Linked DNA regions of Homo sapiens: regions 2 and 3 are each linked to region 1. Evidence: promoter capture Hi-C in human tissues and cell types (Jung and others, 2019). All regions are on one chromosome and are shown on one strand. Each heading gives the region's core, a stretch centred on a gene start or on the middle of the fragment in contact. The rest is flanking DNA. Distances are from core to core; before and after follow the strand shown. Region 1 holds the start of PHOX2B (paired like homeobox 2B). Region 2 has its middle 15 kb from the start of LIMCH1-AS1. Region 3 overlaps PHOX2B-AS1 (PHOX2B antisense RNA 1).

Region 1 (3,595 bases), core at 278-2,777:
GCCACACCAAATCCAGTATTTCTGATCGGCCATGGGGCCCTAGGTCCTTCTCACTCGAGGCTCCAGGACTTCGAATTTCACCAGCCGCCCCTCACCCCACACCTCCCCGGACCAGTGCGGCGGAGCGGGGTCGGTTTCCAGGCGCGCGTACCTGGACTCGCGCCTCTGTGAGGTCGATCTTCAGGGCCAGCTCCTCCCGAGTGTAGATGTCGGGGTAGTGAGTCTCCGCGAAGACCCTTTCCAGCTCTTTGAGCTGGGCACTGGTGAAAGTGGTGCGGATGCGCCGCTGCTTGCGCTTCTCGTTGAGGCCGCCGTGGTCCGTGAAGAGTTTGTAAGGAACTAGAGTATGACAGAGGAGACAGAAAGTGAGCAAATCAGCCGGCAGCTCGCCGGCCGTGGAGCTAGAATGTGAGGACTCCAAGGTCAGGTCATACGGCAGCCGCTACCTACACCCGCGCGAGAGAGTTGCCGAGAGAAGCTGCGGGAAGAAACCGAGGAAATTTGTTATCTGCGGAAACCTGGGCTCAAACTTCGGGCTTGGCGGAGTCCTTTCTGGCACAAGCGCCTTTGGGTGGATTGAAACAGCGCGATGTGACGGACTTGAGATAGTGCTTTCAGCAGGAAAAAACCAGAGAGGAAAAAAATCCAAAAACATCAGTCGGAATATCAGGGAGCCAGGAAAGAAGTTACCAAACAGTCCCACTTTGGGAACTTTTCAATTCTCAGAAAGTTGACCCGGCTCAAAAGTTGGGGGAAAGAGCTGCAAAAAAATAATAATAAATTAAAGAAATAATCATAAAAATGACCAGCCAAAGAGGTGTGAGCCGCTGTCGGTTCTTAAAAAAAGAGACACTGCCAGTAATGAGCTTTACTCTTTGTTATTTAATTATTTTCTAAGCTTTACGTCTCATCGCAAAGTAAATAAATTATGCCTATCATTTTGGCAGCTTAAGATAATTTTGTTGGCGGTTCGGGTGTGACTAGGATAGTGTAACCCTGTAAGTGAATTACCCCTCCCTGCAATCGCTTCTAACGTGATAAATTCTTTCATTTGTGTAAGCAAATTTCGTTTGGTAAATACTAAACACATTTCCATTTTCAAATGCAATCAAGGCTTCCTATATACGGGCGGAAAGGCGGCTTCCTCCGCTGAGAAAGCTGAAGGTCCTTACCTGCGGCGTACGGACTGCTCTGGTGGTCCCTGAGGGTGCCCAGGCTGCAGGATCCCGGCGTGAGGGAAGGGCAGCCGGACGTGGCCCCAAAAGTGGTCCTTATCGGGTTATACTGGAAGCCACTGGCCTGGCTGCAGGAACTGAAGTCAGCATAGGCTGAAGCCAGGCTCGAGGTGTCCATCCCAGCCATACAGGACTCGTAGGCAGAGGAATTGAGGTAAGAATATTCCATTTTATACATTGAAAAGGTTCTGGATGGCTCAGCCAAGTGGAAAAATGAAATAAAAGATGGATATGGAGAAGGTGGCTGGAGTGGGGAGATGTGCACAGCTCAACGCCTGCCTCCAAACTGGCCTCCTTACTACCAGCAGAGCCTAGTTTTATGAAAAAGCCTCCTATGAGATGCCTTGTCTGAGGTCTCTAGAGCATATAGTCCTCATAATAAACTTGGCTCTTTCCACTTGGACAATAGCAAAGCGGTTGGTCTTATTGCTGGCGCTTTTTACATGACAATAACTCATCCGTCTATTGGGCTGGCACTGGGGAACTGAGCTGTCCAACCTCCCTATCATTGATTCCTGCATCTCTAATTAGAATTTAATACCACACCATTACGCACCGAGCCCCTGATCCTCCCTTCTAACCAGCTCCCTGCCCTTTAATTCAATCACACTACTTGGAAATAATGAAAGTTGGGTGACGATTCTCCCTGATCCAATTTCCCCGAGCTTTTAAGCCTTTTTAACTGATCATATACCTTAGGCATAAATTGAGATAGTGTGTGTGTTTTCCCCCTTCTTCGTCCTCTTCTTTTTTTCCCCCTCGGTTAGGGAGAAGAAACCTTGATGTCATAGAAAACCTGTTTTGTAAGAGTGTTACACGCTCAATTTAACAACAAGCCTACCCCCCGAAGTGCATGAAATGTTATAAAGGACTGGGACATTGGCAAGACTCAGGCGCCCTGTAACATAGAGTAAGTGGGCCAAGGGGGTTTATGTGAACGATAAGCGGATTTCTTTAAAAATACACCTGGTAGAGGGGGTTAAAAAAAAGAGAGACAGAGAGAAAGCATCTTATAAATTGCATTTCTTCTTGCAGCTAAATGTGCTTTCAAGAGACTCAGGGTATACAGCCACTTAAAAATAATAATAAAAAAATCTGAGGAAAGCTTTCGAATGTGAAACATCTGGATTCTCGACCGTTGTGTTCTTTGCTCTCAGTTCTGTCTGTTTGCATTAGCGCAAGCCTTGGTTGGTTTGAGTTTCTGTGAGGTTGTTCGTTTTAATTACACCATAACTGGCAAGCGAGCATGAAGTGTACCCAAATGTATCTCCTCTTTCATCTCTTTCGGGCGCTCTCCCTCTTTCTCGCCTCTTTTTTTTTTTCAGGTGCCCACAATCCTCCACAGACCCGGGGATTGTGTCTGTTTGCCTTTTAGGTTTGCGGACTGTAGTGAGGGAAATTCTTGCCATGTAAATGCCCAGGCAAGGGCTCCAGGTCGGGCACCTTTCTTGTCCGATTCCTCAGGCTTTTGGGTGCTGGCAGCGAGGCACAGACAAAGGAGCGAGCAGTGATTTGTGGACTTCAGTGGCCCCATGATTTAAGCGGAGGGTAATTTTCATTTGGTTTGTTAGGCCCTAGCAGAATAAGGGAAACTATTTCATTAAATCCTTCCTCTCGGTGGACAAGAGGGGGAAAGCTTAGCTGAATCGCCGTGTGGTGTAAACAAACCCTGGATATTTTATATGAATTAAATGTGTAGATAATTAGTTTTATTGCATTCATTACCCCCTTTATGTGCTCTGTAACAAGTCAGTAATTAAAGTAACAAACTCATAAAGTCTTTATAGGGGCATTTAGGCGTTCAGTGTTTGCCAAACTAAGTGGTTTAATTCGATGCTAGTGCCGGGGAGTGGATGGGCTCCCGCTCTCCCCTGCCACCGTGTTTTATTGCGCACTAAACTGCCGCGGACGCAGTAATGGATTAAACGGGGACAGCGGTCCCCCAGCCTTGTGCTTCTTTGCAGGGTGAGTTTCAGGCTCGTTTCAGGTGGTTGCAAATCCTCGGGGCGTGAGGAAGCGCTAAAGTCGGGAGTGCAGGGAGCCGGACCTACCGAGGATCCTGGTGATAGTTTTATGGGGAGGGCTGATAGTTTTATTGCAGTTGTATGTTGTACAATGCGTATTTGATAAAGAAGGGCCCTTGGTGACCAGTGTGCACTTTTTTGTGCACGGGGGTGAAATGAAAATAAATGTATACAAGGTTTTACTGCGGCGGGAAACAAATTGCAACGCTCTAAATGGTTTTTCTTTATGGTCACCAGACAAGAGGAGAAAAGGGATGCAAACATCTGTCTTCAGTCCCCTAAACCTAAAGGCCAGCAAAGACGGATGCGAATCCAAGTGCTATTACAGCGGAGATT
Region 2 (3,595 bases), core at 658-3,157, 41 kb before region 1:
GCACCCATAATTACATACAGTACAACATCATTGCTATGAAGCTCAAAGACAATAGAAAACTAAGCATTATAGTCTCTGGGATTACCTGATATAACAATAAAAGAGCAAATCAAAACAAAAGATTAACACAAACAAAATCCAGGATTTGGTGCAGGAGGAAGGGGATCCCTATCAAGGAGGATAGACAGGGGCTATCAACTTCATTGCCTTTTTATGTTTTCACATTTATTCGTAAGTTTTGTTTTGTTATGAGTACCTTCAGCCCTACTAAATATTGACAAACTGCTTTCCAAAGTGATTGCTCCAAATAGTTTAACAAAGCATAGAAGATCCTATTTCCCCACATCATACTCAAAAGTTGGTATCTCTGGTTTCTTAATTTTTTTTGCCTTTCTGATGGAAGGCATTGCTTAAATTTATGTTCTCCTGACTAATGGTGAGGCTGAAATGGGCATATTTTCATATCTCTATTGGACTTCTGGACACACAAATGGACCAATTTCCACTTCTGTTAATTACCTGTTCATTTCATTTGCCAATTTTCCTATTGAATGGCTTTCTTATTATTATTATTATTATTATTATTATTATTATTATTATTATTATTATTTGAGACAGGGTCTTGCTCTGTCACCCAGGCTGGAGTGCAGTGGTGCCATCTCAGCTTACTGCAGCCTCCGCCTCTGGGATTCAAGCAATTCTCCTGCCTCAACCTCCCCAGTATCTGGGATTACAGGCATGCACCACCATGCCAGATCATTTTTTGTATTTTTAGTAGAGAGAGGGTTTCACCATGTTGGCCAGGCTGGTCTCCAACTCCTGACCTCAGGTGATCCACCTGCCTCATCCTCTCAAAATATTGGGAGCCACCACACCCAACCAAATGGCTTTATTATTCATACAGCTTTATAGGGGTTGTGTAAATATTCTAGATCCCAATCTTTTATCAATTGCTTGCATAAAGGTATCCTGCTACATACTCTTAAAATTCTTAAAGTTTTGAATTTGACATTTGGATCTTTATCAAGTGATGTAGGGATCTAATGTTTTTCCTCTTTGGATAGTCGATTTTCCCAGAACCCCTTAAAAACCCATCCTTTCCCTGTTGATTTGTAATATCACTCCTGTGGGATACTGATTTGCATATATCTAAGAGTCTGTTTCTGGGAATTTATTCCATTTCATTAATATATTCATATATGTCTACACTATTATGACACTATTTTAATTACTATATTTTTATATTAAGTCTTGCTGTCCAGAACAGCAAACTTCCTTTCTCAAAATTATCTTAGCTATTTTTGGCTCTTTACTCTTTCATACACATTTTAGGATAAGCTTGTAAATTCTAAAATGCCTTGGGATTTTGATGAACATTGAATTTATAGACTATACTTTTCTAATTAGTATTGCTCATATACAAGAATACTACTGATTTCTTTATGTTAATCATGGACCCAGCAACTTTGCTGGACTCTTTTATTAGTTCTACACATTGTTTATCATTTCTCTTGAATTTTCTATGTTAATCATCATCATCTACAAAAAAGATTACTTTGTCTTTTTTTATGTTCTCATTTTTTTCATGTCATATTGTATTGCTAAGCTATCCAGTAATTGGTGATAATAGATATCCTTGTCTCATTGTTATTTACATAGGCAAAAAATTGGAAAACATCCTAGATGTCTAACAATAGGGAAATCATTGTGAAAATTATGGCATATCTTTATAATAACATTCTGCCATTGAAAAATTCCATTTTCAAAAACATTTACTTTAAATTATTAAAGTACCCACAATAAAATGCTATGTTTAAAAAAGGCATGAGGTCAGGTACAGTGGCTCATATCTGTAATCCCAGCACTTTGGGAGGCTGAGGTGGGAGGATCGCTTAAGCCCAGGAGTTCAAGACAAGCCTGGGCCACCTGGCAAAACCCCCATCTCTACTAAAACTAGAAAAATTAGCTGGTTGTGGTGGCATGAGCCTGTAGTCCCAGCTACTCGGGAGGCTGAAGTGGAAGGATCATCTGAACCTGGGAGGCAGAGGTTGCAGTGAGCTGTGGTCGTACCACTGCACTCCAGCCTGGGTGACAGAGAAACACCCTGTCTCAAAATAAGTAAATAAATAAAAAGCCATAATATCAAACTATGCACGTGATTCAAGTTTTATAAGTCAAATCTATTTTATATATATATGTGTATATATGTGTATATATATATGTGTATATATTATATATATATAAACTATGTCTCATGTTTTGTATTATATATGTAACCCGAGCATCTGCAGTTTTCAAGATTTATGGGGCCATGCCTTCCCATAATATCCAGGCATAAATCCATGCTCCATTCTACAGGACTACAAGAAATCTGGCCCTTTCTGCAATTATGTCTGATCTTCAGAGTGCCCTGGTTTTTGTTTCCCACAGTTCTTGCTCAGTAGCTGCCCCAGGCTTCTTCTTCAGTCACTTTTGCCTGTTTCGTCATTCCTTCCATATGCAATTCCCCCTCTTTTCAGTCCAGCGAAGCCCCAAACATGGAAACAACCCACCACTGTTTTATTCTTCAGAGACCAGCTAACAGGGGCCTCTCATGGTTTAATAAGTTTAAATATGGCTTGAGGATAGCATAGCCAGATTACAAGGCAAGAAAGGAAAACATCAAATTGGAATTAATGTATCATTGCTCTTAAAATCCACTGGCCATGTGTGTTCACAGGGAGTCATGTCCATCCTTCCTCCTTAGCTCCTGGCCTCTGGCCCGCTGCCACGTTGAGAGGCACACTTTTCCCAACTATAGTTTCCTTTTATTCTCTCTCTCCTCCCCTCGTTCCTCCACCCCTACCCCTAGGAGAGCACCCTTGTATTTAAACATGCTAAAGGAATCCAAATAATGCCAGCAAATATAACTATGATTTTTACAGCCAGCCCACAGCAAAGACAGCCTTTACCTTACTAAACACCTCAATTAACATCTCTGTCTAAAGAAGGAGCACAGACTCTGGAGTTGGGATGTCCAGGTTCACATCCCAGCTCCACCACTTACCATTTGTGACTTCAGGCAAGTTGTTTATCTTCTCTGTGTCTTGGTTTCCTCATCTGCAAAATGGGGATAATAGTAAAACATACCATATAGTGTTATTGTGAGGATTAAACAGGATCATGCATTTTAAATAGGACATATTTTAGTGTATATGGTAAACAGCCGTTTCTATTAGGATGACCATGCATTAGGACTAGTAACAATATAGTAAAAGTTGAGGTTGTGGAATTACATTACCAATATTCAGGGCTACAGTATGAAAAAAAACCTCTTGTTTAACTTGTATCAATATTACTGGATATGCTTATCAGAGTAACTCTTCTGAAAAGAGGGAATCTGCCCCTGAAATAAATTCTAGCCTATAGCATTAGGGCCACAAAGAATTTACAAATATTCTCAGAACCTCTGCAAAATAAATATGTACCAATCTGAAAAGAAAATATTGAATTAGATATGCCAAGATACTGACAGCAGTTATTTCTGATTAGTGTAATTATAGATTTTTAAAAATTTTTATCTGAACACTTCTGAGTGTTTTCTCCACACTGACCA
Region 3 (3,595 bases), core at 435-2,934, 39 kb after region 1:
GGGGAGGTTGAATTTAGATAAAGTCTGGCACATTTTTCTTAAGAGGAAACTGAAAAAGCTGTTTGTAAATGCACCCTTGACAGGCCACCTTCTGCAGTCTTATAGATATTAAGATAGTAATTGTGATATTAATAATAATAATTACAAGGGAGAGTTGTAATTGAAATGTATGCAAGTCAGCGGTTGGCAAATGCATCTTTAAGAGGACACATTTTGTGCTCTTACAGATATTACAACAAAATTGTGGTATTAATAACAGTGATTAGAAGGGAGATTTGTAAGTGAAATGTAAGCAATCCATTCTTAAATTGAACTTAGAACACAAAACCATTAAAGGGAAATGAGAAAATAAGGCTAGGTTGTTAAGAGTGACACAACTTTCATGTAAAAATTGCCTGCAAAAATGGCAGAGAAATGAAACGAGAGCAAGTGGGAGTTTATATACTTACATGGAATTTTAAATAACTATAAACAAAATGTATTCAAAGGCTAAATTCTAACTTGGGGGAAAAAGTAAAAATAGATTCTAAGCTTTGAGGGATTATTTGCGGTAAACATCATCAACATGTATCAATCCAAGCAAACTATATGCACAGTTAATTTTGAGATTTGGGTAAACCAAATCTAGAATAATTAACCATGAGTATTCTTGGTAATTTAAAGTTTCCTGAATCAAATAGTTTCTAGAAACAATTCATCACTTTAATTTTTTTCCAGTTTTGTCCTAAGAGTCTCTTTTAAAATATAAGGGTTGCAGTTTTACGAACCCAAATTCCAGAAAGAAAAAGGATGACTTACTCTAGTCACAGAAGAAATGTCAGAGTCTATCCTTGAAAGTAGAAATAGGGTGAGTGCCAGGGAGTGGAGGAGCTTAAAGGAATAAGAAGACGAAGTAGACACTTACCAAACAGGCACCCTTTAACCCTACAATCACTTCCTACTATTGGGATACAACTTTTTTCTTTCATAATATTATGTTTTGTTGAAATTAGGTCAGTCTAAGATCTGAGACACACTGAACTGCAAAATGGAGTAATTCTTTTCTGAGTGTCTCGTCAATGGTGTCTCCCAAAGGCTCCAATTAGCTGTCTCAATCTGGTTTTAGGAGAGAATTGTTTTCTATTCTTCATGAGAAAATATACTACAATCTTGTCCCTTGGTTATACTTCTTTTTTCCCCCTATGTCCTCTGTGCTTGTGTTGTATTGCAAATAACAACTGCACAGATCATAGAGTGGTGTTAATTCCCATTTGGAAGCCTCTCAGAGTCATACTTTTCTCTTTTGGGTTCTTAAGACTGAAAAAATGAGAATGCCAAAGGAATTTCTTGTCCTGAAAAAGGAGTATCTTATCATTCACCTGCAAGTGTTGAATAGCTTCTATACACACCGTACAAAGAATAACACATGCTTTTAAATATTCATAAACAAACAAAAAAAGTCACAAAAGCTTCTTGTGTCTCCTGCAAACTTCTCTCTAGCTAGATTCTCCGGCTGGAACAGGTCACCTGAGGGTCGCCTCAAGCCCCAGTATCCTTCAAACAAAAAAGACCTACGTCTCCTTTCTCCAAGCCATGGACCTAGAAGAACAAAAGCTTTTGGGAAGGGTGGGTAAGGGAGGGTTAGTAAATTAACCCATCCGGGCAAAAATGAATGAGTTTAACTAAGTAGAAAATTACACAAAAATAGTCAGAAGCATTTTACAAAATAGAAGAGAGAATATAATTCTTCCATACACTTAGGCTGACAATATCAATATCAGCCAACATGCACTGATTGACAGGCACAATGGTTTCATTTTATTTCATCTTTTCAGCCTCTCTTTGTTAAGGATTATCATCACCATTTTCTAGATAGAAAAACTGAGGTTCTTTCAGGTTAACTAACACAAATCAAAGTTACACAGATAAATGGCAGGGCTGGAAATTTAACCCGGGGTTCAAAAAGACTCTGATTTTAACCGTGCTATTTTACCTCCCTCCTTGTGCCCTCCTGAGCTGGGGTTCACTTGATCGCCCACCCCCACCTCACCCGGGATGGCCCTGAGACAGCTGAAGGGAGAAGCTGAAGGGTCTTCATTGTTCGTGAGGCAGGGCTCGGGCTGGGAGTCCAGCAATCTGCCCTTGGGCAGTGTCTGAAGCCTCAGCCCGAAAAGTCTCTCTCTAACAATCACTGACAGCGTCCAAGGGTTTCTGAGGGCAGAAAGACCCAGCCCTGGGAGTGGGGGAGAGAGAGGAAGAGGAAGATGAGTCTCTTTTACCCCTTATTAGTCATCCTTCAGATTCCTCAGAAGACAGAGAAAGGGGGAGAGAGAGAGAGAGAGAGAGAGAGAGACCTAGCAGCAAAGCAGGATTGGATGTTTCCCTCCCATACCCCAAAAAGGCTCTGATGGTCAAGCCCTTGTAATTTATTACATTGTAATTTAGCCCTACGACGTGTTCAGATGGGCAAAAACCAGATGTGGGGAAAATGCAAACACAAACCTTTCCTGTTACCCTTCTGCAGCCTCCTTGTTCAGTGTTCCTGTAATTTCCTGGGAGCCACATGTTGGGTTCTAGGAAAGTGCAAGATGCCCAGGACCCAGTTTCCACGTGATCCCTTTATGTTAACTGGCTTTTACTTTGTCCACCACCTCACTCCTGGGGTTCCACAATAGGATGCTCTTCCTTACGCTCTCTGAGCTTTAAATATTGGGCATCTCTGCTCTGACATTCTCTACAACCTACATGTTTAACAAGGAGGGGCAAGAGATTGAGTATTTAAATTATGGTACATCCACTCCAGATATTATTTTGACATTTCAGATGCCGCTGGAGGTAATATAATAGCTTCATGCTTATAAAGCTAAGTATAGAGAACAATATTCAAGATTAAACATAAACTCTCATGATGGCATATCCAGGTGGTTGAAGCATGGACTTTGGAGTCAGACTGACCTGAACTAGACTCTGCCCTTTGCCCGCCATGTGACTCTGGGCAAGTTTTTGCACCTTCCATAGCCTCTGCTTTTTCTTCTGTAAGAATGGTGATAGCCAACACAGAGTTGTTATGAGGATTAAATGAGATGATATCAGTTTGAAGTTTCGCAAAGTATCAGGCTTGTTGCAAGCATAAAATAAATGGTACCCCATTATCTTAGAAAGAAAATTGAATGTAGGGGAGGGAAGTGGAAATTCTCCTAAATCCAAAATGTTTGTGAAATTCTCCAAATGAGTGAAAGTGGGGTTAAAAAAAACTCAGGAGAAGGGATTTCTGGGTGGGAGCCACTTACTTGAGATCAGCCTGGTCAGTTTTCGGGATCCATTGAGAGAAGCCCATTGGACACTTCTTGGATTATGGACCTCCACATGGGCAAAACACAAGACTGTGTTCTTGGCACATTTAGGATCTACTTATATTCACCACTGGCTTTATATTCAATATTTAAAAGGATCCAATTAAGTGAAACAACAACGGAAAGAAATCTACCTGGCAATTTTTATCCCCAGTGGGGGTAAAAATATATTTATAGACATGATTATCGTCATTCATCCAGCCACTCTTTACTAATCACTCTTCTGTACCATGATGCTGCATTCCTTTCTAAGGTCTTGGGAT

Evidence for each region. The method cuts DNA at HindIII sites, captures the fragments that hold promoters and counts their contacts. A contact is called where the count stands out against the background at its distance.
Region 2: a contact is called between a fragment that was not itself captured here and the fragment with the promoter of PHOX2B in region 1, in 2 of the 25 tissues and cell types used here (aorta and mesenchymal stem cells).
Region 3: a fragment that was not itself captured here is called in contact with the fragment with the promoter of PHOX2B in region 1 in 4 of the 25 tissues and cell types used here (H1 embryonic stem cells, IMR-90 fibroblasts, aorta and 1 more).

The regions. Positions count from the first base shown.
Region 1 is chr4:41,747,198-41,750,792 of GRCh38, forward strand. PHOX2B (paired like homeobox 2B) reads right to left here and starts at 1,528. Exons shown (of 3, transcript NM_003924.4): 1 at 1,173-1,528; 2 at 152-339. The coding sequence starts at 1,413. PHOX2B-AS1 (PHOX2B antisense RNA 1) reads left to right here and starts at 1,152. Exons shown (of 4, transcript NR_187403.1): 1 at 1,152-1,389. The HindIII fragment of the contact is 4,691 bases long and covers 1-2,605 here.
Region 2 is chr4:41,706,078-41,709,672 of GRCh38, forward strand. No RefSeq gene overlaps it. Among named protein-coding and RNA genes, the nearest start is that of LIMCH1-AS1, 15 kb to the left of the region's middle. The HindIII fragment of the contact is 4,169 bases long and covers 1-3,595 here.
Region 3 is chr4:41,786,024-41,789,618 of GRCh38, forward strand. All of the region lies in intron 1 of PHOX2B-AS1 (PHOX2B antisense RNA 1), which reads left to right. Among named protein-coding and RNA genes, the nearest start is that of PHOX2B, 39 kb to the left of the region's middle. The HindIII fragment of the contact is 3,915 bases long and covers 1-3,595 here.